Linked DNA regions of Homo sapiens: all the other regions are linked to region 3. Evidence: promoter capture Hi-C in human tissues and cell types (Jung and others, 2019). All regions are on one chromosome and are shown on one strand. Each heading gives the region's core, a stretch centred on a gene start or on the middle of the fragment in contact. The rest is flanking DNA. Distances are from core to core; before and after follow the strand shown. Region 1 overlaps ARHGAP39 (Rho GTPase activating protein 39). Region 2 has its middle 22 kb from the start of ZNF16. Region 3 holds the start of ZNF34 (zinc finger protein 34). Region 4 has its middle 22 kb from the start of ZNF250. Region 5 overlaps ARHGAP39 (Rho GTPase activating protein 39). Region 6 overlaps ARHGAP39 (Rho GTPase activating protein 39).

Region 1 (3,713 bases), core at 236-2,735, 150 kb after region 3:
TTGGCCAGGATAATCTCAATCTCTTGACCTCATGATCCGCTCACCTCAGCCTCCCAAAGTGCTGGGATTACAGGCGTGAGCCACTGCGCCCAGCAATGAAATAATCTTTGTAGGGTTCAAAAGAAAAAAAAGACTAAACAGAAGCATGGGTTGCAAGATAAAGTTGAGAATCTCTCAGAAAATAGAGCAAAAATTTGGAGTTGGAGAATAGGAGAAAAGAATATTCAAGGACCAGTCTAGAGAGTCCAGTACCTGGATAGTAAAAGTTTTAGGAATGAGATGGAAGAAACATCAATGAGAGAAAGTCACTGAACAAAATGTCCCAGAGTCCACCAGACACCCACACACTGTGTGAAAACAGACTGGTACAAAGACACAAAGACACGGCGTCTGGAAATCCTAGACCCTGAGAACAGATTGAAGATTCGGAAAGCTTCCAGAAAGACACAGATTGCATTCCAGGATTGAGGGTCAGAATAACTTTGGACTTCTTAATAGCAGTTCTGGAGTTTGGAAGTCTGTGAAGCAGTAAGTTCAAAATTCTGATGGAAAGTGATTTCCTTTGTAGTATTCTTTACCCTTTGAAACTATCAAAGGCCTCAGGCATCTTTTTTCTGGAAGTGACTGAAATGTTCCTTACCAAAACAAGGTGGTAAATGGAGGGTGCTGAGCCTGGGGTGCGGGAGTGTCACCCCGGCGATGCTCCAAGGCTGGGAACCACCTTGGTCCTTTAAACATGTACAAGGCTAGTTTGGTTAAAGATGCAAGTGTGCAGAGCTAGCAGATGTCATGCATACTTTATCCTGCAGAAGTGAAAATGGGGTTTGGTAATGCTGTGTCTGTGTTAGCATCTGCTCTGATGTACCAGGCGTCCCGCCCTCCTGGGCATCTTCACATCGCCTGCATCGCAGGGAGGATTGGGGCTGTCGGGAGCTTGGCCTGGTGTGTAGGGTTCCTGCAGACCCCATAGTTTCTTCCTTTTGTCATCTTTTCTGTTCCTTCTGTACTCCTCCCCCTAGTCCCTCAGTAAAAACAAAACAAACTAACCCAGGCAGTTCAATTGTGAGTTTACATTTTCCTACCCCTTTCCCACTCTTAATTGCTAATCCTCCACTAACATTAGCTGAGTATTGAGTTTTAAGAAGTTTTTCTTCTGCACTCACCCCGTAAGAATCAACACAGAAGAATTATCTACCTGTGGTCACCAAGAAGGGTTTCTCCATACCAGCCACAAATCAGTCCCACAGCAGACACCAGCTGGGTGTCCTCTAAGTCGGTCCCCACACTGTCTTACCTGGCAGGAGATTCAGCCCCCCTCTAATTCAGTCCTCACACTGTCTGCCTGGTGGTAGCCTCAGATCCCACCGGGTAAGTGCTCAGCCCCCTCTAATTCAGTCCCCACACTGTCTACCTGGCGGTAGCCTCAGCCCCCCTCTAATTCAGTCCCCACACTGTCTACCTGGCGGTAGCCTCAGCCCCCCTCTAATTCAGTCCCCACACTGTCTACCTGGCGGTAGCCTCAGCCCCCCTCTAATTCAGTCCCCACACTGTCTACCTGGCGGTAGCCTCAGCCCCCCTCTAATTCAGTCCCCACACTGTCTACCTGGCGGTAGCCTCAGATCCTACTGGGTGAGTGTTCAGCCACCCTGTAAGTCAGTCCTCACACTGTCTACCTGGCGGTAGCCTCAGCCCCCCTCTAATTCAGTCTCCACACTGTCTACCTAGCGGGAGACTCAGATCCCACCGGGTAAGCGCTCAGCTCCCCAAGACCACCCCCACTTCCAGTGCCCATCACAAGCCCAGGGATAATTCACCCGAGCTCTGACCAACCAGGTACAAATCGGGGTTCCCACACCCCCTCCTTGGGTCTGACTGATTTTCAAGAGTGACTCATAGAATTTTGGGAAGCTTACATTGATGTTTATCATGGAGGATATTACAAAGGATACAGATGAAGAGAAGCGTAGGGTGAGGTGTGGGGAAAGGGCCTGGAACTTCCATGCCCTCCCTAGGTGCACTGTTCTCCAGAAACCTCCCCCCATGTGTTCAGCTCTCTGGAAGCTTCTTGAACGCTGTCCTTTTGGGGTTTTATGGAAGCGTCATTACATAGGCATGATTGCTTAAACCGTTGGTGACCAACTTAACCTTCAGCCTCTTTCGCCTCCCCCCATGGGGAGTGCAGCTGAAAATTCCACCCCTCTAATCGTGCGTTGGTCTTTCTGGTGACCTACCCCATCCTCAAGCCACCTAGGGGCTGCAGCCCTGAGTCAACTCACTAATGTACAAAACAACATAACCATGGAGATTCTAAGCATTTTAGGAGCTGCGTGCCAGGGTGGGATGAAGACCAAGCACACATTTTACAGTATCACCAGAATCCTTTGTGGGAACACCTAGATTAGGGATTCGAGAATGTTTCCCTGAGAAGTGAATGTGTGAGCTTAGTCCTGAAGGAGAGACAGAAGTTACCCAAGGCCAGAATGTGCAGGGAAGTGTTCCAGACAGGAGTGGAGACTACACCCGCACAGGGCCTGGAGTTCCCGGGAGCCGAGTGGAGACTGCGCCTGCAGAGGCCTGGAGTTCCAGACAGGAGTGGAGACTGCGCCTGCAGAGGCCTGGAGTTCCAGACAGGAGTGGAGACTGCGCCTGCAGAGGCCTGGAGTTCCAGACAGGAGTGGAGACTGCGCCTGCAGAGGCCTGGAGTTCCAGACAGGAGTGGAGACTGCGCCTGCAGAGGCCTGGAGTTCCAGACAGGAGTGGAGACTGCGCCTGCAGAGGCCTGGAGTTCCAGACAGGAGTGGAGACTGCGCCTGCAGAGGCCTGGAGTTCCAGACAGGAGTGGAGACTGCGCCTGCAGAGGCCTGGAGTTCCAGACAGGAGTGGAGACTGCGCCTGCAGAGGCCTGGAGTTCCAGACAGGAGTGGAGACTGCGCCTGCAGAGGCCTGGAGTTCCAGACAGGAGTGGAGACTGCGCCTGCAGAGGCCTGGAGTTCCAGACAGGAGTGGAGACTGCGCCTGCAGAGGCCTGGAGTTCCAGACAGGAGTGGAGACTGCGCCTGCAGAGGCCTGGAGTTCCAGACAGGAGTGGAGACTGCGCCTGCAGAGGCCTGGAGTTCCAGACAGGAGTGGAGACTGCGCCTGCAGAGGCCTGGAGTTCCAGACAGGAGTGGAGACTGCGCCTGCAGAGGCCTGGAGTTCCAGACAGGAGTGGAGACTGCGCCTGCAGAGGCCTGGAGTTCCAGACAGGAGTGGAGACTGCGCCTGCAGAGGCCTGGAGTTCTAGACTGGAGTGGAGAATGCGCCAGCAGAGGCCTGGAGTTCCCGGGAGCCCAGTGGCTCAGGGACTGAAAGGCACTGATTAGATTGCCTTCATGGGCACAGAGGGCTTCTTTCAGTCTGATGACATCTTTATATTTGGTTTGTCTTTCCCGTTAATTGGGTAAGAAGTTTTGTTTTCCTCTCTGCAGTTTGTTACAACTGACTGCAGAACTTGTATTCATGTATCTTTTTAAATCTCATGTGGAGAGGCAGCTTTTCCTGTTGTGTGCTGATTATGGATTAAATTTAAGACTCAAATATAGGTTCACCAGGCATGGTGGTACGCGCTGTAGTCCTGGCTGCTCTGGGGGCTGAGATAGGAGTGAGCCCTGGAGGTGGAGGCTGCAGGATCTGCAATCACCACTGCGCTCCAGCCTGGGTGACAGAGCAAGACT
Region 2 (3,320 bases), core at 423-2,922, 190 kb before region 3:
CTTGGGAGGCTGAGGCAGGAGAATTGCTTGAACCCAGGAGGCGGAGGTAGCAGTGAGCCAAGATTGCACCACTGCATTCCAGCATGGCCACAAAGCAAGACTCCAAAAAATATATATATATATGACAAAAGGGTTAGGAAGCTTTTCCTCTGAGGCCCACGATTACACAACCAAATCAGAAAATAATATTTTTTTTGTTTTAAACCTGTTTACATAAGATGGAGGTGTTTACTTAACTAAGAACCTCGGTATTTACTCAAATCCGGTTTTGGGTTTTATGGCTAAAACATTTCTCCAGATTAACCTTATCAGTTTGGAATATGTTTTTATTTTCCATTAAATATTTCATCCAAATCATACTGAATTTTATTTATCATGGCTTTTAATGTTCTCTATTCAAGTCAAATTTCTGTTTCCTAATTACTTGGCTTGGTGATGGCATTAATATTGGTTGGGAGCTAGATGGTCTCTGCTCTATTTGATGATTGGCATAGAGCAATCATACACTTGGTACTTCCTAGCATTTTTTTTTGAGACAGTATCATGCTGTATCATGTTGCACAGGGTGGAGTGCAGTGGTGCAGTCATAGCTCACTGTAACCTTGAACTCCTGGGCTCAAGTGATTCCCCTGCCTCAACTTCATGAGTAGCAGGGACTACAGCTGTGTACCACCACACCGGCCTCTCCTGGCTTCTTAACCACTTACATTAAAATTGAGAGGAGAAAGGCATTTTCAGTTTCTTTAGTTAATAAAAAGAAGCCATTTCTGGAGGAGTTTTATGCCTGTACCAGCAGAGGTTCAGCCTTCCAGGAATCTCATCATGATCCATACTGCTGACACAGGCCTTTGTCACCTGAAGCATTCTTAAAATAAGGAGACTGACATTAAACAGGACAATTGTGAACTCCACTTTGTAAGCATCATACATATCTTACAACTCATTCTGAAGACTCCTTTATTCTTGCTCTTCCCAGAGAGCTACTGTGTTTAGTCATGCTCACTGCACTCACAAGAGAAAAAGAGTAAGTGGCATATTTGCAGGTGTTGATGGTTACAAGAGCATTTTTACTTTTTCCTCCATGTTTGTTCTGCAGCATTTCCATTGATGCATGCTATTGTAGACTTCTTAGGTTGACCTTGGCCTTGACCTCCACCACTAGCTCATGACCCAAAACTGAAGATGTGCATCAGAAAGGGACAGATTTGGTCTTTCTGCTGTAAAAGATATTCTGCCTTAGTGCCTGCTAATTTGTTGTGCATAGTCCTGTGCTGCCAATCTTCCCCACCAATTGTTAAGGTTAATGTGTGTTTTATATGTGTATTCACAAACATTAAAATGTAATCAGTGGATTCCATTATTGCCCATTTTCATGTAAGGTGGGAGGCACTTTGTATGGTTGGGAATCTGTAAGATCTTTAGGACTAAAACTCCTGCCTCTAATCCCAATTTATGAGGCCCTGACTCTCCAGGCAGCATGACTTAGTTGGATTTTTCTCTGCCACGAAACCTGCCAAGGCTTCTTCATCACCCAAAACCCTCCCATGACCAACCTGTATGAAAAGAGGGGCAAAGGTCATTATTAATCACAGACATGCAAAATGATATTACAAGATGTCATTTTACCCTCACTAGGTTGGCAAAAATTAAAGATCTGACAGAGAATGACACCAAATATATTTAGCAACAGTTACTCTCATACGCGGCTGATAGGAGTGGAAATTGGTATGACACATTGGAAAATATTTTGGCATTATTAATACAGTTAAAAATTAGCCCTGGCCAGATGCACTGGCTCACACCTGTAATCCCAGCACTTTGGGAGGCCAAGGCAGGTGGATCACCTGAGGTCAGGAGTTTGAGGCCAGCCTGGCCAACACGGCAAAACCCTGTCTCTACTAAAATAATTAGCCAGGTGGTGTGGTGGGAGCCTGTAATCCCAGCTACTCAGGAGGCTGAGGCAGGAGAATCGCTTGAACCTGGGAGGCGGGGGTTATAGTGAGCTGAGATCGCGCCCCTGCACTCCAGCCTGGGCGACAAAGCGAGACTTCGTCTCAAAAAAAAAATTATGTAACCCACAACCCAGTTCCACTCCTGCACATACATGTTGGGGATGTACTTGCATGAGAACTAGAAGATGTGTCCCAAAATGTTTAATAGCAGCTGTTCCTGTAATAGCAACAAAAAAAAAAAAAGAAAAAAAAACAAGTCCAGTGTTCATGGAGAGGGGGAGAAAAGAAGTTTGATTGTAAGTATAATATAGCAGAAAACTACGTCAAAATCAATTACCTGCAGCTACACACATTATTCTTAAAGCTGTCACTTTGCAGGGGAGTGTGGATTGTTCCCAATATCGACCAACTTTGATTGCTTCCTGTAGTGAAACTCCAGGAGACCTGGGAAATGAGGGAAAAGTGTGACCTGAGAGAGAGAGTGCCAAATAATTGGAAGATTTTTCCAGCTTACTGTTGGCAGAAGTGTGGGTGATATGAAAGGGAGCAGATTCTAAGGCTGTTCAACTAGAGATAATGTAATGTTGGATTGGACTGGGTTTGTTATATGAGTGCACACATGGCAGGCTGTGGATTCACTGTGCTAGTTGCAGTAGCAGCTTGTTAATGGAAGTCTATATTTGGTCATGGCCTCCATTGAGTGAGGCTGACATGCAGAATTGCCTGATTTTACAACAGAGAATGGATTCAAAGGTTCAGGAGGTGCAAGAGGGCACTCCTTTCACCCAGGCTTAGAGAAGTGCATTGATGAGGGAATAGTAACGTCCAGGAAAGACTCTGTAGTGGCTGTTTTATATAGTCTATCAAAGGAAGTAGGAGAGACTGTTATGAAAATGGATTTAGGCTGGGCGCAGTGGCTCACATCTGTAATCCCAGCACTTTAGAGGCCAAGGCAGGTGGATCACTTGAAGTCAGGAGTTTGAAACCAGCCTGGACAACATGGTGAAATGCCGTCTGTACTAAAAATACAAAAATTAGCCAGGCAGGGTGGCAGGTGCATGTAAATCCCAGCTACTCGGGAGGCTGAGGCAGGAGAATCACTTGAACCTGGGAGATGGAGGCTGTAGTCAACCAAGATCACGCCACTGCACACCAGCCTGGGTGACAGAGCAAGACTCCCCTCAAAAAAAAAAAAAAAAGAGGAAGGGAGGGAGGGGGAGAGAGAGAGAAGGAAGAAAGAAAAAGGAAAGGGAAGGAAGGAAGAAAGGGGAAAGGAAAGAGAGGAAGGAAAGAAAAAGGAAAGAAAAGAGAAGGAAAGAAAGAAGAGAAAGAAAAGAGGATTTAACTCAGTGGGAATGGTCAGGACCA
Region 3 (3,557 bases), core at 670-3,169:
GGAATGTGGGACAGGCACCCTGTCTACAGCCAGGAAGCCATTCCTAGCCTGGCTTTTACCATTCTGTTCTGCATGCATTCCCACCCCGCCATGGTGGGGAGTGGTCACTGACTGGAGGGTTCTGGGTGCTTTTTCCTGTGGGTGGTGGGTGGGGCCTCATGCCTTTCCTCATTTTCTAGCCTGATAGTGACAGGTGAGGTTGAGGGTGGTGATTGAGTGTGGGGTCCCAGGTCACTGCTGGGATTGCTGAACAAAGGGATGAATGCATGCAGTGTGTGTATGGGGAATCCCAGACCACCCAAGTCCCTTCACCCACCCACCCAGAGCCCTACACTGGACTGGAGCTGGCACCAGCAGTAGGTTGGTCTGCTCCTTGAGTCCTGTAACTCCACAGCTTCGCAGGGCATGTAGCCCCCTCTTCCCTGGGGCAGAGAAACTAACCAGGAACAGCCCCCAAAGCTGCATTGATTACCTTAAAGCACATGGCCTTTCCCTGCTGGCAGGGGCTGATACTTTGGTTCTCTCTAGCTTTGGTAGTGATGAGGCTGACAGTGATGATTGAGTGGAATCAGGTTGGAAGTGTTGGGGAACCCCCCCTGCAATGGGAGGGCAAGTAAGCTGGTTTCCGTCACAAGGCAGAGTGGAGGGGCTTCCTGTTTGGCCATAGCCCATGGCATCTTGTCCCTTAACCATGATCCAATGAGGAGATCCCAGGACAGCATCCTATCAGCACTTTCACACGAGGAAGTTCCACCAGCGAATGCAGCAGCTGCAGATCACTGCCCCTAACAACACTCCTGTGGAACTGCAGCAGGCAGGATGAGGCACGGTCTCTCCCTATAGACTTGGTTGGAGGGTGCCTGGCAGGTGAGAATAGTCACCTTAGGCTTCCGTGGTCACTCCGGGATGACAAGTCCTAACTGGCTGCGCGGTGGTTCCTGGCTGTCATGGTCCACGCTGTCTCTAGAGAACCTTACCCCCCATTTCGTGATCTTGCTTTCCTGATCCTGCTGGTATGGCCCCACCTGTCTTTGGGCGCCCACCACACCTAGGCAGTGACCCAGCAGGGCCTGTTTATTTTAGACAGGCTCTCGCTATTGCCAGGCTGGTCTCAAGCCCCTGGCCTCATGTGGTCCTCCCACTCCAGCCCCGCCTCCCCGCCAGTAACTACGGGACCTGGTTTTGATCTCGTCATTCGCAGGGCCGGTCCCAGGGTCCCAGCTGACTTGTCGAGAAAGAATCCAGGAGGGCGGTGTTTCCTCCTGAAGGATGGAGGGGCATCTGGAAAGAGGGTTTTGGGAAAGCACTAGATGCTTAGCTTGGCCATAAGCGGTCACTGTTTTTCTGCTCCCTTCTGGGCAAAGTGGACGGCAGGGCTTGGCCGATGGACCGGCCATGAGGGAAAGTTTGTTCCAGAAGCAGCTCAGGCACCCGAAAAACCCTTTCTCCAGAGTGGACACTGGGCCCCATTTACAGGAGTTAAGGATGAGGAGCAATAGGTTAAACCCAAGACAGGCTTCTTTGGCCAGTAAGCATCCTTTCTTGGCCCTAAGGAAGGGTGCGGTTCCCGTTTCTCTGTAAATCGAAGGGCCTAGTTCTTGTTTGCGGCGCCTTTCGTGCATCATTAGGGAGAGAATTTCTCAGAAAAAGGGAAAGACTAATATGTTTTCGCCTCTGACCATCGCCCCAGTTCTGAGGCCTCTGGGCCGTGGCTTCGGACTGCCACCCGGTGGCAGCATTCCCGCTTTACGGCTTTGCCATTCGCGGGTCCCCGGAGCCTTACTGCAAGCCAGGGAGGTGGGCAGCCGACACGCGGCGTCCTAGCTTCCCAGAGCGGCCCGGACGGCGCCTCGGACCCAGACAGTCGGCTGACGTCACTTCCGGATCGGTTCCGATTGGCGGGGAGGGAGGGCCGAACGGGCGAGGTTGGGCTGCCGTGCTGCTCGGCGGCGCTGAGGTGAGTGTGAGCCCGGCGGGGGCGGGCGCGCGGGGCGCAGACCCTCCCGGCGCAGACCCTCCCCTGCGCGTTGCCCCTGTGCCCGGTCCTCTCGCGGTGCTGCAGGCGTGGGTCCGTCCCGCCATCAGCGGCACTTCCTGTTCGAGGGACCCCCCGGACAAGGCCCCGAGTACGGACTGCGCCTCGCCGCTCTCTGCCAGCCCTGGGGTCGCTCCTCACGGGGCTCCTTCCGCTCTCGAGCCCCTGACAACTCCCTTGCCCCACGCGGGGTCCCCTGGACTCCTGCCGCACAGAGCGGCTTCTGCGTCCCGATGCGCTCCAGACCCCTTGGTCCCAGCGGCCCGAGGCTTCCCATCCCGGCTCCCTCCCACGCTCCTCTCCTGTCAGCTTTTCAGGGGCGGGGCTCGTGCGTCTCGCGGTCCTCCCAGCCCTCTGCGAATGCCGCCCCTCCTGCCTTTAGCGTCCGCGCTCCGCCAGTGCTCCTCCCTCTGCTTGTGCCTTCCCTCCGCCCCACCCTCCTCGCTTCTGGCGCTCCAAGGCTTTTCTCCCCGCAGCCAGGCAGCCAGATTTTTGTTTCTCTTCTTTATTTTTTCTTTCTTTTCTTTTCTCTTCTCTTCCTTCTTTCCTTTCTCTCTCTCTTTTTCTGAGACGGAGTCTCGCTCTGTCGCCCAGGCTGGAGTACGATGGCGCGATCTCGGCTCAATGCACCTTCCGCCTCCCGAGTTCAAGGGATTCTCCTGTCTCAGCCTCCCGAATACCTGGGATTACAGGCGCCCGCCACCATGCCCAGCTAATTTTTGTATTTTTAGTAGAGATGGGGTTTAACCATGTTGGCCAGGCTGGTCTCGAACTCCTGACCTCAAGTGATCTGCCCGCCCCAGCCTCCCAGAGTGCTGGGAATACAGGCGTGAGCCACTGCGCCCGGCCTCGTTTTCTTATATCTCTACAAACCTAATACTGTTTTTGTCTCTTAAAAATCTACATATGTATGGCAGAGCACGGTGGCTCACGCCTGCAATCCCAGCACTTTGGGAGGCCAAGGCGCGGGGGGGATCACTAGGTCTGGAGATCGAGACCATCCTGGCTAACCCAGTGAAACCCCGTCTCTACTAAAAAATACAAAAAAATTAGCCGGGCGTGGTAGCGGGCGCCTGTAGTCCCAGCTACTTGGGAGGCTGAGGCAGGAGAATGACGTCAACTCGGGAGGCGGAGCTTGCAGTGAGCCAAGATCCCGCCACTGCTCTCCAGCCTGGGTGATGGAGCAAGACTCCGTCTCAAAAAAAAAAAAAAAAAAAAAAACTACCTATGTATTATACTGTGTATATTCTGTACCTGACAGTTTTTCTCAGCCTTATAACTGTGCTCTATCTCCTTGACATTACTTTCCACCACTCTGACTTTGCTGATGGACGCTGAAGTTTTTTCTTCTTCTACACAGGCACATGGTAACATTTTTGTGTTTCTTTTTGTGTGCATTAGCAAGAGTCTCCATAAAGTACATACTTCGAGTGGGGTTTCCCCACTGAGAGTTTTGCAGGGTTTCAGTTCTACCAGGTAGGGCCAGACATATTTCTAGAGTGTCTACCAGTTTACAGTGTTC
Region 4 (3,273 bases), core at 564-3,063, 140 kb before region 3:
AGAGCAAAGGTGGTGGGGGCTGGTGGAGCTGAGAGGGAGGGAGAAGGAACAAAGATCCCCTAGAGGTTGAGGGGTTACTCTTGGATAGACAGACACCTCCTGCATTTCCAAGAAGAAAGGAGAAAAATGGGGCAAATGTAGTCAGTTTGTAGGTTTGGTGGGATGGTTTCAAGGATGCAGGAGGCAAAGTCCTCAGTTGCAAATGGGGAGGGAGAGGTTGTGAGAAATTTGAAGAGAGAAGAAAGTGTGGAAGTGTCGACTTGAAGATGGGAAGGTCGGTCCCACAGGCTTGAGCCTGTGCTCACCTCAGAGGCCGGCACTCCACCCACAAGGTGTTGGCTGCCCACACACCCCACCCCAGGTCTCACCGTCACCTCCACTACAGCGCCCTTTCCCAAGGCAACACCCAGAATTTCAACAGCAGCATGGCCCTGTTACCCTCCTAACTCGCCTGCCCAGTCTTTCAACATCATGCTGGCCAATCTGCTGACATGTGCCTCATCAGTCAGGCTCCTCTCTGGCCTCATGTTTCTCCCTTTCTAGCCTGGATTTGATTACTCATTGTTCCAGTAAACACTTGTTGAATGCTTTCTATCTGCCAGGCATGAGGCGCCAAGGTGCAAGGATACAACAGGAACAAGAGAGGCATAAGTGTCTGCCTTGTGGAGTTTAGGTGCCAGTGGGAAGAGAAAATGACCTGATGGTGATGATTGCTGGAAAGCAACACTAAAGCAGGGAGGGATTGGGGTCCATGTGGGGTCCAGGAGGGGTTTGGTTTTAAATGGGGACAATCAGGGAAGGTCTCACTGAGATGACATTTGAGCAGTGATGCAAAGCACGTGAGAGAGTGTCAAGTGAAAATAAAAGGATATTCACGTATCAGGCAGAGAGAATAGTTAATGGGACACCAGGCCTGAGACCTGGAGTGTTTCAGGGCAGCATGGCTAGGAGTAGAGTGAGCAAAGGAGAGAGGTGCTGGGGTGTGTCATGAAGGTCTGTGGCCATGACAAAGACTGGCTTTTACTGTGTGTGAGATGGGGAGATCCTGGAGGGTTCTGAGCAGAGGAGGATGACCTGACTTGCATCTGAATATGATCACTGCTGTGTGGAGAAGAGACTGTGCATTCCTGACTGTGTTTGCTCCCTTCTAACTCCGTTTCTTCCCGTGAGTCCGCCCTTCCCCTCACCTCAATGCCACTGGGAGACAGCCACCAGGACACCCACTGCAGCTGAGGCACAGGGTAGTGGCCACACTGATGGATGCAGTGGACTGTGCAGGGGCCACAGGAAGGTGCTGCCTAGGACAAGTAAATGACCAGCTCCTCCTGGTCTCTGGTGCTGCCCAGCATCCAGCCAGATTTGACACATGTTGGGGTGCTTCATCCAAAGCCTAGGGAATTTTAATTTCAGTACGTCGTCACGTTTCCAAAGAGAAATAGTCTTGAAATTTCTGTGAATCACAAATTTGTTTCTTCCTTTTGACCTTGGTGATGTCCTCAGCAATGTGTTTCTCAGGGAACAAATACCAAGTCCATATGATGGAGAAAGCCTAGGTCATACATTTACTGACTCCATGAGCCTGAGATGTCTCTGTTTAGTGGGGGCTGGGGCATGAGGAAGATGATAGGAAAGCTCTTTTTTTTTTTTTTTTTTTTTTTTTTTTGAGATGGAGTCTCACTCTGTTGCCCAGGCTGCAGTGCAGTGGTGCGATCTCCACTCACTGCAAGCTCTGCCTCCCGGGTTCATGCCATTCTCCTGCCTCAGCCTCCCAAGAAACTGAGACTACAGGCACCTGCCACCATGCCTGGCTAATTTTTTGTATTTTCAGTAGAGACGGGGTTTCACCGTGTTAGCCAGGATGGTCTCGATCTCCTGACCTTGTGATCCGCCCACCTCGGCCTCCCAAAGTGCTGGGATTGCAGGGGTGAGCACCTGGCCTTTCTTTTTTAAAATAAAAATCTTAGTAGACTAATTATTTTTCTCAAAAGACCCTTAATTATTTAGATAAGTACTTAATATCATAATTACTTACCAAATACTGGGCTTTCATGATCATGAAACAGAGAAATTGGAGAGAGGAGAAGAGAAACAAAAAAGGAGGGGAGGGTGGAGAGAAGAGACACTCATTCCATCTGCTGGGACTGACAGTCTGAGTATTGACCCCCAAACCTTCCACCGTAAAAGGTCCTTCCCTTTCTCCCAGCAGCGGCCATGTGGCCCCTGCCATGCACTCATTGCCCTAGCTGCTGCATGTGTCTCAGAATGGTATTCGTAAAATGGCTTGAAACTGCCCCTATAAACTTTATCAAATTAATCTGGGAAGAAGAGGGGGGGAAATGAAAATAAACAAAGCTTGCAGCACATTCAGCATTCATCATTAGGTCAGCTACTCCCTGACATGCCTCCACATAGTCATTTGGTGCCGACGGCCTAGAATCACACAGGCCCTAGATTATAGTTCCCTTGAACTGCTCTGTAGATAACAACTTGAACATCATGAAATGTTAAGTTTTCCCTTTGAGATACGCCTTCAGATCCTGCATACTTTTAAGACCACTGACTGAGCTGGTCGGAAAGATGCCACAAGGAGCTGACCACACCAAAGAATGCAGTTTCCACGTCCTGATGATGTCATCCCCTTTGCCCTGGCCAATCAACTACCCCCATTTTCCAGCCCCTCGCCCTCCATGATCCCCTTAAAAACCCCAGATGGATTTGAGGGTCTCCTCCCATCTCCTTACTTGGTGCCCTGCAATAATTAAACTCTCTGCTGCATCCCTGCTGTCTCAGTGTCATTGGGCTGTTACTGTGCAGCCAGCATACAAACCTGTTGGTCCTATAACAGGCTTAATCAGTGAACAAGTGACAACTGGTGCCCACCCCCACCCCTGCCCACTCTGGTGCTGCCAATCCTCAGCTGTCATGTGTGATCCCTTCTCACCTCATGCAGGGGCTGGGGCCTACCCAGGACTGCAGCACTGAGGTGGTGTCATCACATGCTGTACAGAAGCCCTTGAAAGGGTTGTGGCCCAGATTTCAAATGTGACTTGCCCAATTTAATTTTTTTTAATTTTAAAATCAACATAATTCTAGAAAATGCAGATTTGAAAAAGGGAAAATATGTATCACATGTATTTCCACCACTTAATACGTTCCCTAGGGACAACACTTCCAAACTGAGATTTAATGTCTGTTAAGCTCTCTCTAGGACCATTTTTGGCAGGAGCATGAAAGAATCCTTAGCAAGTTTAGATGGACAGAAAAATACACATG
Region 5 (3,266 bases), core at 98-2,597, 220 kb after region 3:
ACTGCTATCTAGAAGGCAGAGCCAGGTGTACAGGATGGAACATGAAGGTGGACTAGGAACGTGACCACTGAAGCACAGCATCACAGGGAGATGGTTAGGCCTCTGGATAACTGCAGGCGAGCCTGACTGATGTCAGGCCCTCCACAAGAGGTGGAGGAGTAGAGTCTTCTCTAAACTCCCCCCGGGAAAGGGAGACTCCCTTTCCTGGTCCGCTAAGTAGCGGGTGTTTTCCCTTGATACTGACGCTACTGCTAGACCACGGTCCGCTTGGCAACGGGTGTCTTCCCAGACGCTGGCGTTACCGCTAGACCAAGGAGCCCTCTGGTGGCCCTGTCTGGGCATAACAGAAGGCTCGCACTCTTGTCTTCTGGTCACTCCTCACTATGTCCCCTCAGTTCCTATCTCTGTATGGCCTGGTTTTTCCTAGGTTATGATTGTAGAGCAAGGATTATTATAATATTGGAATAAAGAGTAATTGCTACAAACTATTGATCAATGATATTCATATATAATCATATCTAAGATCTATATCTGGTATAACTATTCTTATTTTATATATTTTATCATACTGGAACAGCTCGTGCCTTCAGTCTCTTGCCTCAGCACCTGGGTGGCTTGCCGCCCACATCAGCCACCACACCTGGCCTCATTTTCATTTTTGAAAGCTACTTTTGCTGGGTGTAGGTTAAGATTTATTCCTTTTTGCCACTTCATTGTCTTCTGGCTTGCATCATTTCTAACAAGAAATCAGCTGTCATTCTTTGTATTTCTTTACATAATGTGTCTTTTAACTCTAGCTCCTTTATTTCTTTTTTTTTTTTTTCTTTTTTTGAGATGGAGTCTCACTATGTCACCTAGGCTGGAGCGCAGTGGCACGATCTCGGCTCACTGCAACCTCCACCTCCTGGCTTCCAGCAATTCTCCTGCCCCAGTCTCCCAAGTATCTGGGATTACAGGCGCACACCACCATGCCCAGCTAATTTTGTATTTTTAGTAGAGCCGGCGTTTCACCATGTTGGCCAGGCTGGCCTCGAACTCCTGACCTCAAGTGATCTGCCCACCTTGGCCTCCCAAAGTGCCGGGATTACAGGCATGAGCTACCATACCCAGCCAATTTCATTCTATTTTTTTGAGGCAGGGTCTGGCTCTTTCACCCAGGCTGGAGTGGAATGGCGTGATCTCTGCTCATTGCACACTTTGCCTCCCAATCTCAAACTGTCCTCCCACCTCAGCACCTGGGACCACAGGTGCACACCACCACACCCAGCTTATTTTTGTATTTTTGGTAGAGATGGGGTTTTACCATGTTGCCCAGGGTGGTCTCAAACTCTTGGACTCAAGCGATCCACCTGCCTCGGCCCCCAAAGCACTGGATTTGCAGGAGTGAGCCACCACACCTGGCTCTAGCTCCTTTATTTTCTCTATTTTGCTCATTTTAAGCAATTTGATTAAGATAGGGGTTTATGTCATTTTCTTCGTGTTCCTTGTGCTGGGGTTCGTGTAGCTTCTTGGACCTCTCAGTTTATGGTCTTCATCACGTTTGAGAAATTTTCAGTCATTTTTTCTCCCAAAACAAAACTTTTTTTGTTGTTGAGACAGGGTCTCGCTCTGTAGCCCAGGCTGAAGTGCAATGGCGCAATCACAGATGATGGCGGCGTCAACCTCCTGGGCTCAAGCGATCCTCCCACCTCTGCTTCCTGAGTAGCTGGGACCACAAGCTTGCTGACTTCCGTACCCAGCCTTTTTTTTTTTTTTTTGTAGAGTTGGGGTCTCTCTGTTTTTCCCAGGCTGGTCTCAAACTCCTGGGCTCAAGCGATCCTCCCGCCTCAGCCTCCCGTAGTGCGACAAGTGTGAGCCACTGTGCCTGGCCTTTTCTTTAGACTGTGTTTGTGCTCACACCCCCACCCAGCACTGCAGTTATGTGTCAGGTCACTTGAAGTCATCCTGCAGCTCTCTGACTCTGTGGGATAATTTCCATTTTCTTTTCTTTTGTTTTTTAAGATGGAATCTCGCTCTGTCACCCAGGCTGGAGTGCAGTGGTGCAATCTCAGCTCACTGCACCTCTACCTCCTGGGTTCAAGCAATTCTCCTGCCTCAGCCTCCCGAGTGGCTGGGACTACAGACACCTGCCACCGCGCCTGGCTAATTTTTGTATTTTTAGTAGAGACGGGGTTTCGCCACATTGCCCAGTCTGGCCTTGAACTCCTGACCTCAAGTGATCCACCCGCCTTGACCTCCCACCATGCTGGAATTACGGGCATGAACCACTGCACTCAGTCCCACTTTCTCTTTTTTCTTTATTTTTCCTCTGTTTTTTGTAGCTTTAATTTTGGATCATTTCTGTTGTTGTGCTTTCAAATTCACGAAGCGTTTTTTCTTTCTAGTGGTGGGTTTGGTTTGGTTTGGTTTTGAGGCAAGGCCTTGCCGTTGCCCAGGCTGGAGTGCAGTGATGCAGGCTCGGCTCACTGCAGCCTCAACCTCCTGGCCCAGACAGTCCTCTCAGCCTCCCAAGTAGCTGAGACAACAGGCACACATTACCACACCTAGCTAATTTATATGTATATAATTTTTTTTTTGAGATGGAATTCACTCTTGTTGCCCAGGCTGGAGTGCAATGGCGCAATCTCGGCTCACGGCAACCTCTGCCTCCCGGGTTCAAGCGAGTCTCCTGTCTCAGCCTCCCGAGTAGCTAGGATTACATGCACATGCTTCCACGCCTGGCTAATTTTTGTGTGTTTTAGGAGAGACAGGGCTTCATCATATTGGTCAGGTTGGTCTCGAACTCCTGACCTCAGATGACTCGCCCCCATCTTGGCCTCCCAAAGTGCTGGGATTACAGGCTGAGTCACCATGCCTGGCCTTTTTTTTTTTTTTTAGAGATCTCACTATGTTGCCCAGGCTGGTCTCAGACTCCTGGCCTCAAGTGGTCCTCCTGCCTCAGCCTCTCAAAGTGCTAGGATTATAGGCGTGAGTCTCCATGCCCAGCCCCAGTGTATTTTTCCTCTCAGACATCATAATGCTTATCTCTAGAACTTTGATTGGGTTCTTTTTTGTATATTCTACGTCTCTACTTAACATGTTCAGTCATTTCTCTAGCTTTTTGAACATATGGAATACAACTTTAGTAACTGTTAATGTCTTTCTCAACTACTTTCATTTGTGTCAGTTTGGGGTTAGGTTCAACTGGTTGAGTTTTCTTGTAATAGTTCCCTTTTTTTCCCCTTCTCCAAGTTATTGGTAGAGATTCAGTGCATTCTGAGGAGCAA
Region 6 (3,478 bases), core at 736-3,235, 190 kb after region 3:
CGCACACACAGGTACATGAGCTCGCACACGCACACAGGTACACGAGCACACACACGCCTCCACACACACACACAGGTACATGAGCACGCACGCATGCCTCCATGCACACACACAGGTTCACGAGCACACACGCCTCCATGCACACAGGTACATGAGCTTGCACACGCACCTCCACGCACATGCACACAGGTACACGAGCTTGCACGCACGCCTCCATGCACACACACAGGTACACGAGCACACATGCACGCCTCCATGCACACACAGGTACATGAGGTCACACACACCTCCACGCACATGCACACAGGTACACGAGCTCGCACGCACGCCTCCATGTGCACACACAGGTACACGAGCACACGCCTCCACGCACACACACAGGTACATGAGCTCGCACACACACCTCCACGCACATGCACACAGGTATACGAGCACACACATGCCTCCACACACACACAGGTACATGAGCTTGCACACACCACGCACACGCACAGGTACACGAGCACGCACGCACGCTTCCATGCACACACACAGGTACACGAGCACACACACGCCTCCACGCACACACACGCGCAGGTAGGTAGATGAGCTCACGCGCATGCCTCCATGCACACGCAGGTAGGTACACAAGTGCGCACGCACGCCTTGAACACGCACACTCAGGTACACAAGTGCACACGCACGTCTCCACGCACACGCACACGCAGGTACACAAGTGTGCACGCACACCTCCATGCACACGCAGGTAGGTACCCAAGTGCGCACGCACGCCTCCACGAACACGCACACTCAGGTATACAAGTGCACATGCACGCCTCCACGCACACGCACACTCAGGTACACAAGTGCACACGCACGCCTCCACGCACACGCAGGTAGGTACCCAAGTGTGCACACACGCCTCGATGCACACGCAGGTAGGTACCCAAGTGCACATGCACGCCTCCACGAACACGCACACTCAGGTACACAAGTGCACACACACGCCTCCACACACGCAGGTAGGTACCCAAGTGTGCACGCATGCCTCCACGCACATGCACACTCAGGTACACAAGTGCACACGCACGCCTCCATGCACACGCACACGCAGGTGGGTACAGGAGCACACAGACACCCCCACGCACACGCACACGCAGGTAGGTACACGAGCTTGCACACATGCCCCCCACACACACGCACACGCAGGTAGGTACACAAGTGCGCACACACGCCTCCACGCACACACACAGGTAGGTACATGAGCTCGCACACTCGTCTCTACGCACACATAGGTACACAAGTGCGCACACATGCCTCCATGCACACGCACACAGGTACATGAACATGCATGCATGCCTCCACGCGCACAAACGCCTCCTAGAAATGCTGAGCACACACGGTGCCCCAGTCCCGTCCCTCCCACAGAGAGTTGCTCTGTGGTCCCCTCTTCCATCACATCTCTTCTTCCCTGGCTCCCAAGAACACCAGTGTGTTTACTCACTTGCTCATCTGATAATTCATCTAAAATTGGTTCAGAATTGCTTCACCCATTCCACTACAAAAATATATGCACTAAAAAAAGCCAGGGTTCATTTGCATTCCCTCATGTGCACGTGTCTCCCAGGAATGCGACACTGGCTCATCCTGTGTTCCTAAGTTGTTTGGATTAGCTCTTTCTCTTTTCTTCATTATGGTTCTGGCATCCGTTGGTTCATTACTTTCAGTTAGAGATTTTTTTGTCCCCCTTTTTATTCTTCCTGATATAATTTTGTCTTTTAAACATATAGACCATTCGCACGTTCCCAAAGCCCCAACCGTACACAGGCACATTCAGCCAGGCCTCTTCCCCGTGCCCTTTCTGCACCTGCCTACCTGCTGCAGGCAGAAACTCTCTTGTTTTCTGTTTATCTCCTGGGTTTCTATTGTGAAGAATAAACAGATGTTAGTATGTTTTCTTATTTCCCCTTCATTCTTACACTAATGGTATCATGATTTATGTGTTCTTTGCACAATTTGCTTTTTCCACTTAAAACATCCCCTAGACATCACTGCCTCCCAGACCATCGAGATTGTCGTCCTTTTTCAAAGCTTCCTGGGCCTCTATTGTGTGTGTGCCTCAGTCTTGTGTTGGCCATATGGGTAATTTCGCATATTCTGCAATTACAAGGACTGCTGCAGTCTGCTTGTATAATTCTGGGTTTTGGGAGGTGCATCTGCAGGTGAATTTCTGACGAGGGACTGCTAGGTCCAAGGATGCCTTTGGATGTGCTGTCCTTGGGGCTTCTGTGAGCAGCACCAACCCCGGGCCATCGGGGCCGTCAACAGCTGCCTGCTGTCAGATGTGTGGGCAGGTGCCTGGGGTCTCCATGCAGCCTGGGCTTTGGGGCTCTGATGATCACTGAAGTAGTTACCCTCCGTGTATTACTGTTCACTTTGTGAATTGCATGCTCTTATCTTTTGCTCTTTTTCTATAGTATTTTTTATCTTTTCATGCTCAAATTTATATATTAAAGACATGAGCTCTTATTGTAAATGTTCCACTAAATGTGTCTGAAAAGCCAAAATCTGTTTTATTTGTAGTGGCTTTTGCATGTGAAAGGTTTTGAATCTTTGTGTAGTCAGGTTGGCCATCCTTTCTTCAGTGCCTCTGTGTTTTAGTCACCTCCATCCAGGTGACTGGAGAAAGAGCACGTGGCACCTGCTCATGGGCTGACATACTTTTGTTTTTGCCTTTGGGTCTCAGATCCGCCTTGGTTCTTGTGTGTGGTGTGAGGTGTGATCTGACCTGTTTGTTTTCCACATGCATCCGGCTGTCCCCGTGCCATTTGTTAGAGGCTGAGGCTGCCTGTGCTCTGTGAGGGGCACTGTGCCTTCTCTCATGCCCCGGGCTCTGTAAGGAGCTGGGGCTGCTTCTGCCCGTCTGTCTGGTCCTGCTGGCCTCCTGTCCTGTGCCCAGCCACACCTGACTCATCGAGAGTCTCTTCTGCTCCTTCCCAGCCTCCCTGGGGCTCATGTGTCCTCATGTGGCACCTTGGTATCCCTCCACTGACACCCACAGCTGAGTTCCGAGTTTCCCCTTTACACACAACGTGGAAAAGCCCACGGCTGGGTTCCGAGTTTCCCCTTTACACGCAACGTGGAAAGGCCCACGGCTGGGTTCCGAGTTTCCCCTTTACACTCAACGCGGAAAGGCCCACGGCTGGGTTCCGAATTTCCCCTTTACACGCAATGCGGAAAGGGCCCCGCAGGTGTCCAGCCTTCGAGGCCATGCCGGGCGCCCTCTGGACTTCCCCGGGCTGCTCCTTCCCCACCACGGAGCTCCTACTCTGGCCGGACTCTCCTTCCCTGCTGGCGGGTGGGTCTGCGTGGCTTCCTACCTGGTGGGTTTGAGCATCTCCGTGTGTTCTTAGCCCTCAGGTTTCCACCTCTGGGAATCTCCTCCGGCCTTTTCTTCCATTTAATCATCTTTTTTAGCCTTTGTGGTGTGGACGCATCC

The links. Contacts are between HindIII fragments. The study calls those that stand out against the background at their distance.
Region 1: a contact is called between a fragment that was not itself captured here and the fragment with the promoter of ZNF34 in region 3, in 4 of the 25 tissues and cell types used here (IMR-90 fibroblasts, bladder, dorsolateral prefrontal cortex and 1 more).
Region 2: a contact is called between a fragment that was not itself captured here and the fragment with the promoter of ZNF34 in region 3, in 2 of the 25 tissues and cell types used here (dorsolateral prefrontal cortex and mesendoderm cells).
Region 4: a contact is called between a fragment that was not itself captured here and the fragment with the promoter of ZNF34 in region 3, in 2 of the 25 tissues and cell types used here (dorsolateral prefrontal cortex and spleen).
Region 5: a contact is called between a fragment that was not itself captured here and the fragment with the promoter of ZNF34 in region 3, in 2 of the 25 tissues and cell types used here (H1 embryonic stem cells and dorsolateral prefrontal cortex).
Region 6: a fragment that was not itself captured here is called in contact with the fragment with the promoter of ZNF34 in region 3 in 2 of the 25 tissues and cell types used here (lymphoblastoid cells and spleen).

The regions. Positions count from the first base shown.
Region 1 is chr8:144,633,712-144,637,424 of GRCh38, reverse strand. All of the region lies in intron 1 of ARHGAP39 (Rho GTPase activating protein 39), which reads left to right. Among named protein-coding and RNA genes, the nearest start is that of ARHGAP39, 50 kb to the left of the region's middle. The HindIII fragment of the contact is 4,920 bases long and covers 1-3,713 here.
Region 2 is chr8:144,971,626-144,974,945 of GRCh38, reverse strand. It overlaps the pseudogene ZNF252P. Among named protein-coding and RNA genes, the nearest start is that of ZNF16, 22 kb to the right of the region's middle. The HindIII fragment of the contact is 3,961 bases long and covers 1-3,320 here.
Region 3 is chr8:144,785,679-144,789,235 of GRCh38, reverse strand. It overlaps ZNF34 (zinc finger protein 34), which reads left to right and starts at 1,919. Exons shown (of 6, transcript NM_001286769.2): 1 at 1,919-1,957. RefSeq lists enhancers at 1,351-1,410, 1,451-1,680 and a silencer at 1,831-2,190. The HindIII fragment of the contact is 13,629 bases long and covers 1-3,557 here.
Region 4 is chr8:144,921,935-144,925,207 of GRCh38, reverse strand. No RefSeq gene overlaps it. Among named protein-coding and RNA genes, the nearest start is that of ZNF250, 22 kb to the right of the region's middle. The HindIII fragment of the contact is 8,062 bases long and covers 1-3,273 here.
Region 5 is chr8:144,564,420-144,567,685 of GRCh38, reverse strand. The region is part of intron 3 of ARHGAP39 (Rho GTPase activating protein 39); the gene reads left to right. Among named protein-coding and RNA genes, the nearest start is that of C8orf82, 37 kb to the right of the region's middle. The HindIII fragment of the contact is 3,546 bases long and covers 1-3,120 here.
Region 6 is chr8:144,597,905-144,601,382 of GRCh38, reverse strand. All of the region lies in intron 2 of ARHGAP39 (Rho GTPase activating protein 39), which reads left to right. Among named protein-coding and RNA genes, the nearest start is that of C8orf82, 71 kb to the right of the region's middle. The HindIII fragment of the contact is 8,983 bases long and covers 1-3,478 here.